Regions from separate parts of the Homo sapiens genome. Here regions 1 and 3 are each linked to region 2. The links are contacts of gene promoters, found by promoter capture Hi-C in blood cells and fetal thymus (Javierre and others, 2016). All regions are on one chromosome and are shown on one strand. The core of a region is centred on a gene start or on the middle of the fragment in contact, and the rest is flanking DNA. Distances in the headings are between cores, read along the strand shown. Region 1 overlaps PALLD (palladin, cytoskeletal associated protein). Region 2 holds the start of DDX60 (DExD/H-box helicase 60). Region 3 overlaps CBR4 (carbonyl reductase 4).

Evidence for each region. The method cuts DNA at HindIII sites, captures the fragments that hold promoters and counts their contacts. A CHiCAGO score of 5 or more calls a contact.
Region 1: a contact is called between a fragment that was not itself captured here and the fragment with the promoter of DDX60 in region 2, in 3 of 17 cell types (endothelial precursors, megakaryocytes and fetal thymus). The highest score is 7.4, in endothelial precursors.
Region 3: a contact is called between a fragment that was not itself captured here and the fragment with the promoter of DDX60 in region 2, in 2 of 17 cell types (non-activated CD4 T cells and total CD8 T cells). The highest score is 5.8, in non-activated CD4 T cells.

The regions. Positions count from the first base shown.
Region 1 is chr4:168,918,357-168,921,561 of GRCh38, reverse strand. PALLD (palladin, cytoskeletal associated protein) reads right to left here. Exons shown (of 22, transcript NM_001166108.2): 18 at 1-28. It also overlaps a transcript of CBR4 not described here. Among named protein-coding and RNA genes, the nearest start is that of CBR4, 90 kb to the left of the region's middle. The HindIII fragment of the contact is 1,241 bases long and covers 725-1,965 here.
Region 2 is chr4:168,316,909-168,320,072 of GRCh38, reverse strand. It overlaps DDX60 (DExD/H-box helicase 60), which reads left to right and starts at 1,321. Exons shown (of 38, transcript NM_017631.6): 1 at 1,321-1,451. RefSeq lists an enhancer at 1,058-1,387. The HindIII fragment of the contact is 2,588 bases long and covers 1-1,832 here.
Region 3 is chr4:168,992,578-168,995,816 of GRCh38, reverse strand. The region is part of intron 4 of CBR4 (carbonyl reductase 4); the gene reads left to right. Among named protein-coding and RNA genes, the nearest start is that of CBR4, 16 kb to the left of the region's middle. RefSeq lists enhancers at 1-699, 700-1,506. The HindIII fragment of the contact is 3,707 bases long and covers 1-3,239 here.

The DNA.
Region 1 (3,205 bases), core at 96-2,595, 600 kb before region 2:
TTAGATCTGGGGTTGGTAACCCACTGACCTAAATCATAAAAGAAATACATGTAAATTTTTGTATTAAAACAGAGTGAAATCACTGGTAGCTAAGAAGTCTGCATAAATTCCTCCTTCAGTAGTACAAGAGGTGGCTTTTTTTTTTTTTTTTTTTTGGACAGAGTTTCACTCTTATTGCCCAGGCTGGAGTGCAGTGGCACAATCTCAGCTCACTGCAACCTCTGCCTCCCGGGTTCAAGCGATTCTCCTGTCTCAGCCTCCTGAGTAGCTGGGATTACAGATGCCTGCCACTATGCCAGCCTAATTTTTAGTATTTTCAGTAGAGATAGGGTTTCACTATGTTGGCCGGGCTGGTCTTGAACTCCTGACCTCAGGTGATCCGCCTGCCTCAGCCTCCCAAAGTGCTGGGATTACAAGCATGAGCCATTGCACCGGGCCAAGAGATGGCTTTTAGTATCAGCTCATGTTACTCTTTTGCTTAAAACTTTTGCTTTAAACTTTGGCTTCCTGAGCACTCACCAGCTTACATCTAAACAATTCTTACAGAGCAACCTAGAGAAGACCGAGATGGGATTTAAAAAATTGCTGTCATGGTCTTACCTTGCCCAGGGCTATGGAGATTAATGGGATGATATCAGCACCAGGCTCTGGGCTTCTTTGAAAAAAGATGTCCAACAATAATAACAAATACTCAGCTGGCATTTATATATAGTACTGTAAAGCTTCTCATCAAGGAGCAGCCATAGTTATGGAGAATGCATTCGTCAGCACACAGGGCTGCTATTATTATTTTATAATCCTTGAAACTGAATAACAAGAGCAATACGAAATTACCCAGAAAGCCATCTCAACAAATTACCATCACAATGGAAACATCATAAAATCTTGAGACCTTGACAGTTGTGTGGACCAGAGATCAGATAAAAGCATTTAATTGCTAATAACATGTTGTGCCGCAAAGGGTCAGGATGGTCGCCATCTGCCAGCTTTTTAGTTTTGCCCTTGATTTTGAATGGAAGAAATGCACTGTTAAGGAAGGCCTTTTTACCCCCTACCCCCAACTTTACTAGTACGAAGTTATATACAAAAAGATGTCACTTAGACTGTAAAACAGTTCTTTTGAAGAACTAGCTTTGCCAGCATCAGCCAGAGGACTCACAAATTCCATTCCTGCTACGTGATACTCAACTGATATTACCTGCAAGATGCCTCCCACCACACATGTAGCAAAGGGCTACAGCATTTAAAGTAAACTTAAATGACTGGTTAAAAGGATGAAGAGGTTTTGGAAACAAACAGCAGTAGTTAGGCAGCTTGGCTTCTGAGACACTCAGGCTCTGTGTTCTCCTATCTATCCACTTGCTGTCCCCAGCTCTCCATGTACACTGCCTGACCTGTTTGGAGGTCATCAGAAGTGGTGTGGAGGAAGAGGGAGTGGACATCTTTGGTCAGGCTCCTTGTTGTTCCCACATCTAGAAACAAAGCGGCACTGCTTGTTCCTACTTTACCAGGTTAGATCCTAGATAAGCCATCTACTGACTGAAGCCACAGTATGTTTAGTAGGAGAGATGCCCAAAGCACGCGTACTCTCAAACCACGTGATTCACAGTGAACCTACCCAGTGGATAGTTACTCATGCTAGGGCAAAGAGAATGCCCCTTGTACCTTTTTTCTAACCCCAGTTCTCCTGGCTAAGTAAAGACAGCATGATCTCAGGAGCTGAAGGTCACCACCAGCAGGTCACAATGTAACTAGATCTGTACTCTCAGCACACATGAAAATAGTGATGCTTGTTGCTATGGGAGTGGAATTAGTTATTTTCCTGAAAATTTAGTACCAGTTAAGGATAATCAGTGTCTAGGAATGTTCCTCAGGGGCTAAAAGGGGAGGGGGCTTTTTGGAGGAAAAGCAAGCTGCTGCTTTAGTGTTTGGCTTATCGTCAGGATTTTTTCCCCTTTCAAAGCTTAAATACACTAACTTTTTTTTTTTCCTGATCTATCTGTACATGTGGCAAGGTTTTTCACTTTTTTTTTTTTTTTAAGACAGTCTTGCTCCTTGCCCAGGCTGGAGTGCAGTGGGCACAATCTCAGCTTACTGCAACCTCCGCCTCCCGGGTTCAAGCAATTCTCTTGCCTCAGCCTCCTGAGTAGCTGGGATTACAGGCGCCTGCCACCATGCCTGGCTGATTTTTTTGTATTTTAGTAGAGACGGGGTTTCACCATGTTGGCCAGGCTGGTCTCGGATTCCTGACCTCAGGTGATCCACCTGCCTCGGCCTCCCAAAGTTTTAGGATTACAGGCGTGACCCACGTGCCTGGCCGATTTTTCACATTTTCTTTATCCAGGTCAGATCATCATAGTGAAATCAATAGGCAGTTTACTTTTTGTTTCCAATATTCTTTTAATGGCAGGCGTTTTAAGGACAGTTATGTGCCAGTCCAGTGAAAGACAGTACTGTTATTTCTTTCTTAAATATGATTAAAAATAGAGATAACCAGTATGGTAAGTGTGTATATACCCATCATTTAGTCACTCTCTTATTTTTTATATTTAAAAATAAATTCCAGATTTTATATACCATTACCCCCATATAGCTCAGTATGCATTTCTAAAAACAAGACTTTTCCATAATCACAATTCCATTTTACACGTAAAATTAATAATTCTTTGGTATAATCTAATTATCTATTTAAAATAAAATTTCCCTGGTTAACTCAAAACGTTATTTTACAAGTGGTCTGTATGAATTTTTTTAAGTGTTTTTTAATTGATAAAAATTGTATGTAATTCTGCACATTATTTTGAAATATGTATGTGTTGTGGAATACCTAAACTGAGCTGATTAACATATGTATGACTTCATTTTTTTTTGTAGTAAGAACACTTAAAACCTACTCTTAGCAATTTTCAAGTATATAGTACATCGTTATTAACTATAGTCACCATGTTGTACAACAGATCTCTTGAACTTATTCTTCCTGTCTGAAATTTTATATGCTTTGACTAACATTTCCCCAACTTTCCCTCTCCCCGTCTAGCCCGTGGTAATCACCATTCTATTCTCTACTATGAGTTCAACTTTTTTATATTGCACATATAAGTAAGATCCTGTAGTATTTATCTTTCTGTGCCTGGCCTATTTCACTTAACATTATGTCCTCCAGGTTCATCCATGTTGTCACAATGACAGGATTATAATTTTCCAC
Region 2 (3,164 bases), core at 72-2,571:
TTGGCTGATTTAAGACCAATCATGTGTTAAATTCTAGAGTCTTTTATTTTCTTTCTTAATCTCATCACTAACAAACACGTGAATTTCTAAACAAATGAATAAACAAGTAATTGTCTGATGGATGTGAGAAATGTCCTCCTTCCCCATATCCCCCTCTTTTAACAACTTGACTCTCTAATTTTTCACAAGACAAAGTATCATTCACTACTCTCTCTGTTCTGTGTTCCCTGTGGAGCAGTGCCTGGACCTTGGCTCTTTCCTTTCCTTGTAGACAAAGCAGCCTGTGGCTTCTTATCATGCTGATTACCCAAATTCACTGCTGTCTTTCCTCCACACCCTCTTCTATTTCCAATATATGAATGCATATTTATAGCATTAATGAAATCAAGCATACGAGGGCACTGAAAGGAAAGGAGATGAGTATCGAAACCCACACTGCAAGTATCAACAGGCAAAAATTAAGAGAACATTTCATCAATTTGAGGCACAAATAAATGTGACCATTCTGCATTTTCAATTTATTTTTTAATGTTGATTCTTGGCCCATGAAAGTACCAATTACAGTTTATACAGAACAGTAATCATCAGCTTCTCATAACAGAAACTCAAAGTTCATGTATTGTTACATACTTTCTTTTTTCTTTTTGCATACAAGTAGAAGCAGCAAGATCTCCAATTTCATTGTGGGGTTTCAGATTCCACAGTGTCTTTTACATTTTATCAATTTCTAAATTCTAACTCTTCTTGATTTTATCTTGTTTAGATGTTACAAATTTTTCTGCCTCAATTTACTCTATATTTATGCCCAAATTCCAAAGCCCATTTTTATTGCCTTTGTCTCTCTCTTTTAAGGTTTTTTTTAGTTTCATTTTATTTTTAATTGACGCATAATAATTGTATATATTTTTGGGGTACAATGTGACGTTTCAATACATGTATACATTGTGTGATGATCAAATCAGGATAATTAGCCCATCTATTACCTCAAAACTTTACTATTTCTTTGTGATGAGAATATTCAAAATTCTCTCTTCTAGCTATTTTGAAATATGCATTATTGTTAACTATACACACCCTACTGCAGAATAGAATACCAGAACTGGTTCTTCCTAGCTATTGTAACTTCATACCTTTTAACTAACGTCTCGCCATGCTCCCCTTCTTAAGATTCTGATTGAAGGGAAGGATGCTAAACTTTCCACGAAAGTGCCTCGCCTAATTCGTGCTGAAGGGAAACTGAAACCTAAGTGCTTCTGAGAGGAGAAAGGAAACCGAAACTCCCGCCGGATGCATAAAAGACTGGCTGCGGTGGCTCAGAGCGCCGAGTCCTAGGCCAGGTCTGGGGTAACCTGGAACTTCCACCTGGGCTCTGCGCTAGGTCTCTGTTTCACTCCCTCCCCGCGGGGCGCGCAGCTCGCGGGTCTTTGGACACCACCGGTCCTGAGTCCGCGGTGAGGAGCCGGGGATGTCCCTTGGGAAGAGCCTGGGGCGGAGCTGTCTAGCGGGAGTTCTAGGTCTTCTTCAACGGACCGGACAGGGAGGTGGCCCAGGAGTGCTGGGCTCGGGGCGCGGGAATCTGGGGAACCTCCTGGGATCGCAAGGCCGTGGCGCACGGGCCCCCTGCTGGCCCGGAAGGCCGGGCGTGGGGAGGGGCGGAGGAAAGGGACAACCGCGAAAGGCCTGAAGTCTGAGACAGAGAGGAGTGCTTAGTTAGGCATTTAAGGAGTCCCCGTCAAAGGTGGGAGCTGGGTAATGGAGGTTGAGGAGAAATTAAGGGACATCATATCTAAGCACAGCCAGTAAAACCTGTACATTGACAGCAGCAAGAAGCTTCCACCTTCAATCCCTGCTCCAGACTTGTAGAATCAGAATCTGCGTTTATTAATAAGATTCCCCCAGGTAATTTCTGTGCACCCTTAAATTTCAGTGGCTTAAGACAATAGAAATTTATTTCCTACTCCAGTAACTTAATTTATTCCTGGTCAAGGGGCAGGTATAGTGGCTTAAAACATTACAAGTTTATTATTTTACAATTGCTGTGGATCAGAAGCCCAGGCATGGGTAAAGTGAGTTCTCTGTTCAGCATCTCATCGAGCTGAAATCAAGGTGTCAGAGCTGTGGCCTCATGGGACACCATGGATGCTCATTCAGGTTGTTGGAAGAATTCAGTTTCTTGCAGCTAAAGGACTGAGGTTACCTGCTTTCTTGCTGGCTGTTGGCTGGGGGTTCCCATGTCTTTAGATTTCACCCTGAGATCTTAGCTACAGTGGCCTTCTCACAACAAGGTGGCTTATACCGTTAAAGAAGGTATAGGGTACCTTTAAAGAAGGTATAAGCCTCTTTGGGGGAATCTCCCGAGTCTACTATGATGAAGTCTTACATAATATAACCGAATCATTAAAGAGACTATGCCATTAAATTCACAGGTCCTGTCCACACTCAAGGGGAGAGGGTTATACCGGGTACTGGAAGCCATTTTAACCCACCAGCTCTTCTCCAGGCAGGGTTTCAGGAGCTTGATGCCTTTCATCAAGTAGCTCCACCATTCTGTTCCAATACAGAATCCATGATTTCCTTTCCCTTCCCTTGCCCCCATTTTTTTCCTCTTTACCTCCCCTTTGCGCCTTTCCTCTTCCCTCCTTTTTTCTCTTTTCCATTTCTCTTCCTCCCTTCTTCTTTTCTTCTTCCTTTTTAAGATTGTTTGAATCAGAATATGGTTCTGACACTACTGTGATTGGAGGATAAGCCTTATAAGGTTCTTGCAATTTCTTTCATCCCCTTTTAATTTATTCGTTTGTAAGATTTGTGGTCTTATGATTGTTTGTTTTTGTATGTGTGTGTCCTGTTGGGTGTGTGTTTATGTGTGTGTGTGTGTATGTGTCCTAATCCCTGTGGTGTCATTTAACATATTTTGCTGGCCTCTAAATTTCTTGTAAATTAATCATTACTACTAGCGTTTTGATCAGATTCAGGTTTTCTTTTTTTTCTTCTTCTTCTTTTTTTTTTTTTTTTTTTGAGACGGAGTCTTGCTCTTTTGCCCAGGCTGGAATGCAGTGGCTTGATCTCAGTTCACTGCAACCTCTGCCTCCCAGGTTCAAGCGATTCTTCTACCTCAGCCTCCCAAGTAGCTGGGATTACAGGTGACTGTCACCATGCCCAGCTAA
Region 3 (3,239 bases), core at 565-3,064, 680 kb before region 2:
TGGTTGTTTTTGGGGGATCACATGTCTGTCCTCCAAACTGGAAACGTCTAACTCTCCAGGAGATGCAGTAGCATTATTTGTTGGACAGTGGCACCTACTGGTAGTTTGTAATGTTTATAGCCTAGTGTGAAAGGCATTGTAAATGTATACCTAGCAAAAAGGGGAGTAGAGCAAAATTTCCAGAGTTTTACAAATGAAATGAAAGGATGATATGGGGGAGAGTCCTTTGGGGCCAAGGAGAGAGAGCACAGACTAGAAAGTAATACAAGCAGAAAGAAGGATGTCAGCCCATGTCTGTGTGGTAGAGGTCATCTTTCCATCTCACTGGGATTGTCCCTGAAAGTGTCTCACTGCTTAGGTCTCCTTGCCTGTCTAAGGCTTGGAGACCTTCCAGTATCTCATGCCTTATTCTAGATCTGCTTTTTTCCCCGAGGTGAAAAAACCTGTTCAAATGGTCACTCACAACTTTTGTGGCCTTACTTTTTGTCTCCGAAAGGACAAACATATCAGAACTAACATCCACCCAGAAGAAGGGCTGATCAGTTCCTTTCAACACAGCATGGATGAAAACCCAGGTTAGCGTTAGTGCTTCTTGAATTGGAAGTATTCTAACCTCTATGTACCTACCAATGTAAGAACTGAGGGCCCTTTTAAGGGAACTTACATTCCTAAAGTTCAAGTCAAGTTGTCATGAAGAGTACTTAATGAGGCATACTTTTAATCTTTGAATCGTAGTGTTGTAGGGCTAAAAGAAACCTCAGGCCAGGCTGCATGGTGGCTCACGCCTGTAATCCCAGTACTTTGGGAGACCAAGGCAGGCTGATCACCTAAGGCCAGTAATTTGAGACCAGCCCAACCAACCTGGTGAAACCCTGTCTCCACTAAAAATACAAAATTAGCCTGGTGTGGTGATGCATGCGTGTAATCCTAACTACTCGGGAGGCTAAGGCAGAAGAATTGTTTGAACCCGGGAGGCGGAGGTTTCAGTGAGCTGAGATCATGCCATTGTACTCCAGCCTGGGTGACAGGAGCCAAACTCCGTCTCAAAAAAAAAAAAAAAAAAAAAAAAAATTAGCCAGGCGTGGTGGTAGGCGCCTGTTGTCCCAGCTGCTGGGGAGGCTGAGGCAGGATAATTGCTTGAACCTGGGAGGCAGAGGTTGCAGTGAGCCGTGATTGTGCCACTGCACTCCAGCTTGGGTGACAGAGCCAGACTGTCTCAAAAGAAAAAAAGCAAAAAAGAAAAAACAGAAAAGAAACCTCAGAGATCTGTCATTTTCCACCTATTACATTCATTTTATGATACAGAAATGGTCATTCAGTTGCAGATAGTACATGACTGTTGGGATCAGGCCCCCAAATCTGGCCATAAACTGGCCCCCAAACTGGCCATAAACAAAATCCCTGCAGCACCGTGACCTGTTTGTGATGGCCATGACACCCATGCTGAAGTTTGTGGGTTTACCGGAATGAGGGCAAGGAACACCTGGCCCACCCAGGGTGGAAAACCGCTTAAAGGCGTTCCTGAACCACAGACAATAGCATGAGCGATCTGTGCCTTAAGGGCTTGCTCCTGCTGCTGATAACTAGCCAGACCCATCCCTTTATTTCGGCCCATCCCTTTGTTTCCCGTAAGGAATACTTTTAGTTAATCTATCATCTATAGAAAGAATGCTTATCACTGGCTTGCTGTCAGTAAATATGTGGGTGAATGTCTGTTTGAGGCTCTCAGCTCTGAAGGCCGTGAGACCCCTGATTTCCCACTCCACACTATATTTCTGTGTGTGTCTTTAATTCCTCTAGTGCTGCTGTGTTAAGGTCTCCGTGACCGAGCTGGTCTTAGCACGTGACTTTTCTCGGGTGATAGCTTTAATAGTATCAGCAGAGCAGGGAACAGAATCTAGTTTAATGTGTCCTAATCCAGTGGTTTTTTTTAACCACAAAATACTGCCTTTGAGAAAAGGCCAGGCCAGCAGAGTCAGAAGTTGAGCCTGGGATTTGCATAGTCACAAGGTCTTTCTTGCAAACCATTTCTACTGTAGTTTATTGTGTTTTTCTGTTTTTGTTTTTTGGGTTAAAATGCATCGATTTTTATGCTGACAGTTTGTGAGAGTTACTGGGAAGTATTCTATGCTAATTTTGCTAGAGTTTGAAAAGAACTTAAAGGATAATTGTGTCTATCTTTGAGAAGATAACATGAACTTTTACATGTTTTTGACAATTTTTATTCATTCTGCTTTTATTACAAGTGTGAGATGAGGTTTTCTTCCTAGGATACTCTCTGAGGCACTTTTGAAAATACTTTTGTTGGCTGGGCACAGTGGCTCACGCCTGTAATCCTAGCACTTTGGGAGGCTGAGGTGGGTGGATCACCTGAGGTCAGGAGTTCAGGACCATCCTGGCCAACCTGGTGAAACCCCGTCTCTACTAGTAATACAAAAATTAGCTGGGCATGGTGGCGTGTGCCTGTAGTCCCAGCTACTGGGGAGCCTGAGGCAGGAGAGTCGCTTGAACCCAGGAGGCGGAGGTTGCGGTGAGCCTAGATCGCACCACTGCATTCCAGCCTGGTGACAGAGTGAGACTCTTGTCTCAAAAAAAAAAAAAAAAGGAAAATACATGTGTCTAAAGACAGAAAACTTTGGACAGCGAGAACCCCCATGATATTGTTCTTAAGCTGATTGGATTGCCTGTTGATTATTGTGGCTCTTCACTGTAAATTAAGTTTCATTTATAGTTTGTTGGAAATTCTGCAGAGGCTAGTATCAATATCTGTGTTAGCTGCTTCTCCTTTTATTCTTGCATTCCTTCTGGCCTTCTCATTCTTCTTAAAGATGAGAGGATATGAAGGAAATATTGCTGACTTTTAAAATAAATGTGGTAAGATGTTATGGCAGAGAAGACTGTATTTCACTGTGTAATTTCACAGTGAAACATACATAATACAAAATTAGTTTTGTTATTCCAGGCCTTCATTACAGACTATCTGAAGGTAGTACTGTGTGCATTTTTTCAACAACTTTTTATCTGAATACAAAAATAATATATATATCTGTTGTAGACAGTTTGGAAAGAGCAGAAAAATATAAAGAAAATAAAAATCATTACCTGTAATTCTAGTATCTAATGATAATCACTGTTAATATTTTGGTATATAGTACTTTTTTCAGTCATTAGTATAAGTTCTTTGTTGTGTTTTTAATAGTGGTATAACTTAATTCATTTGTAACCTACATTTTATACAC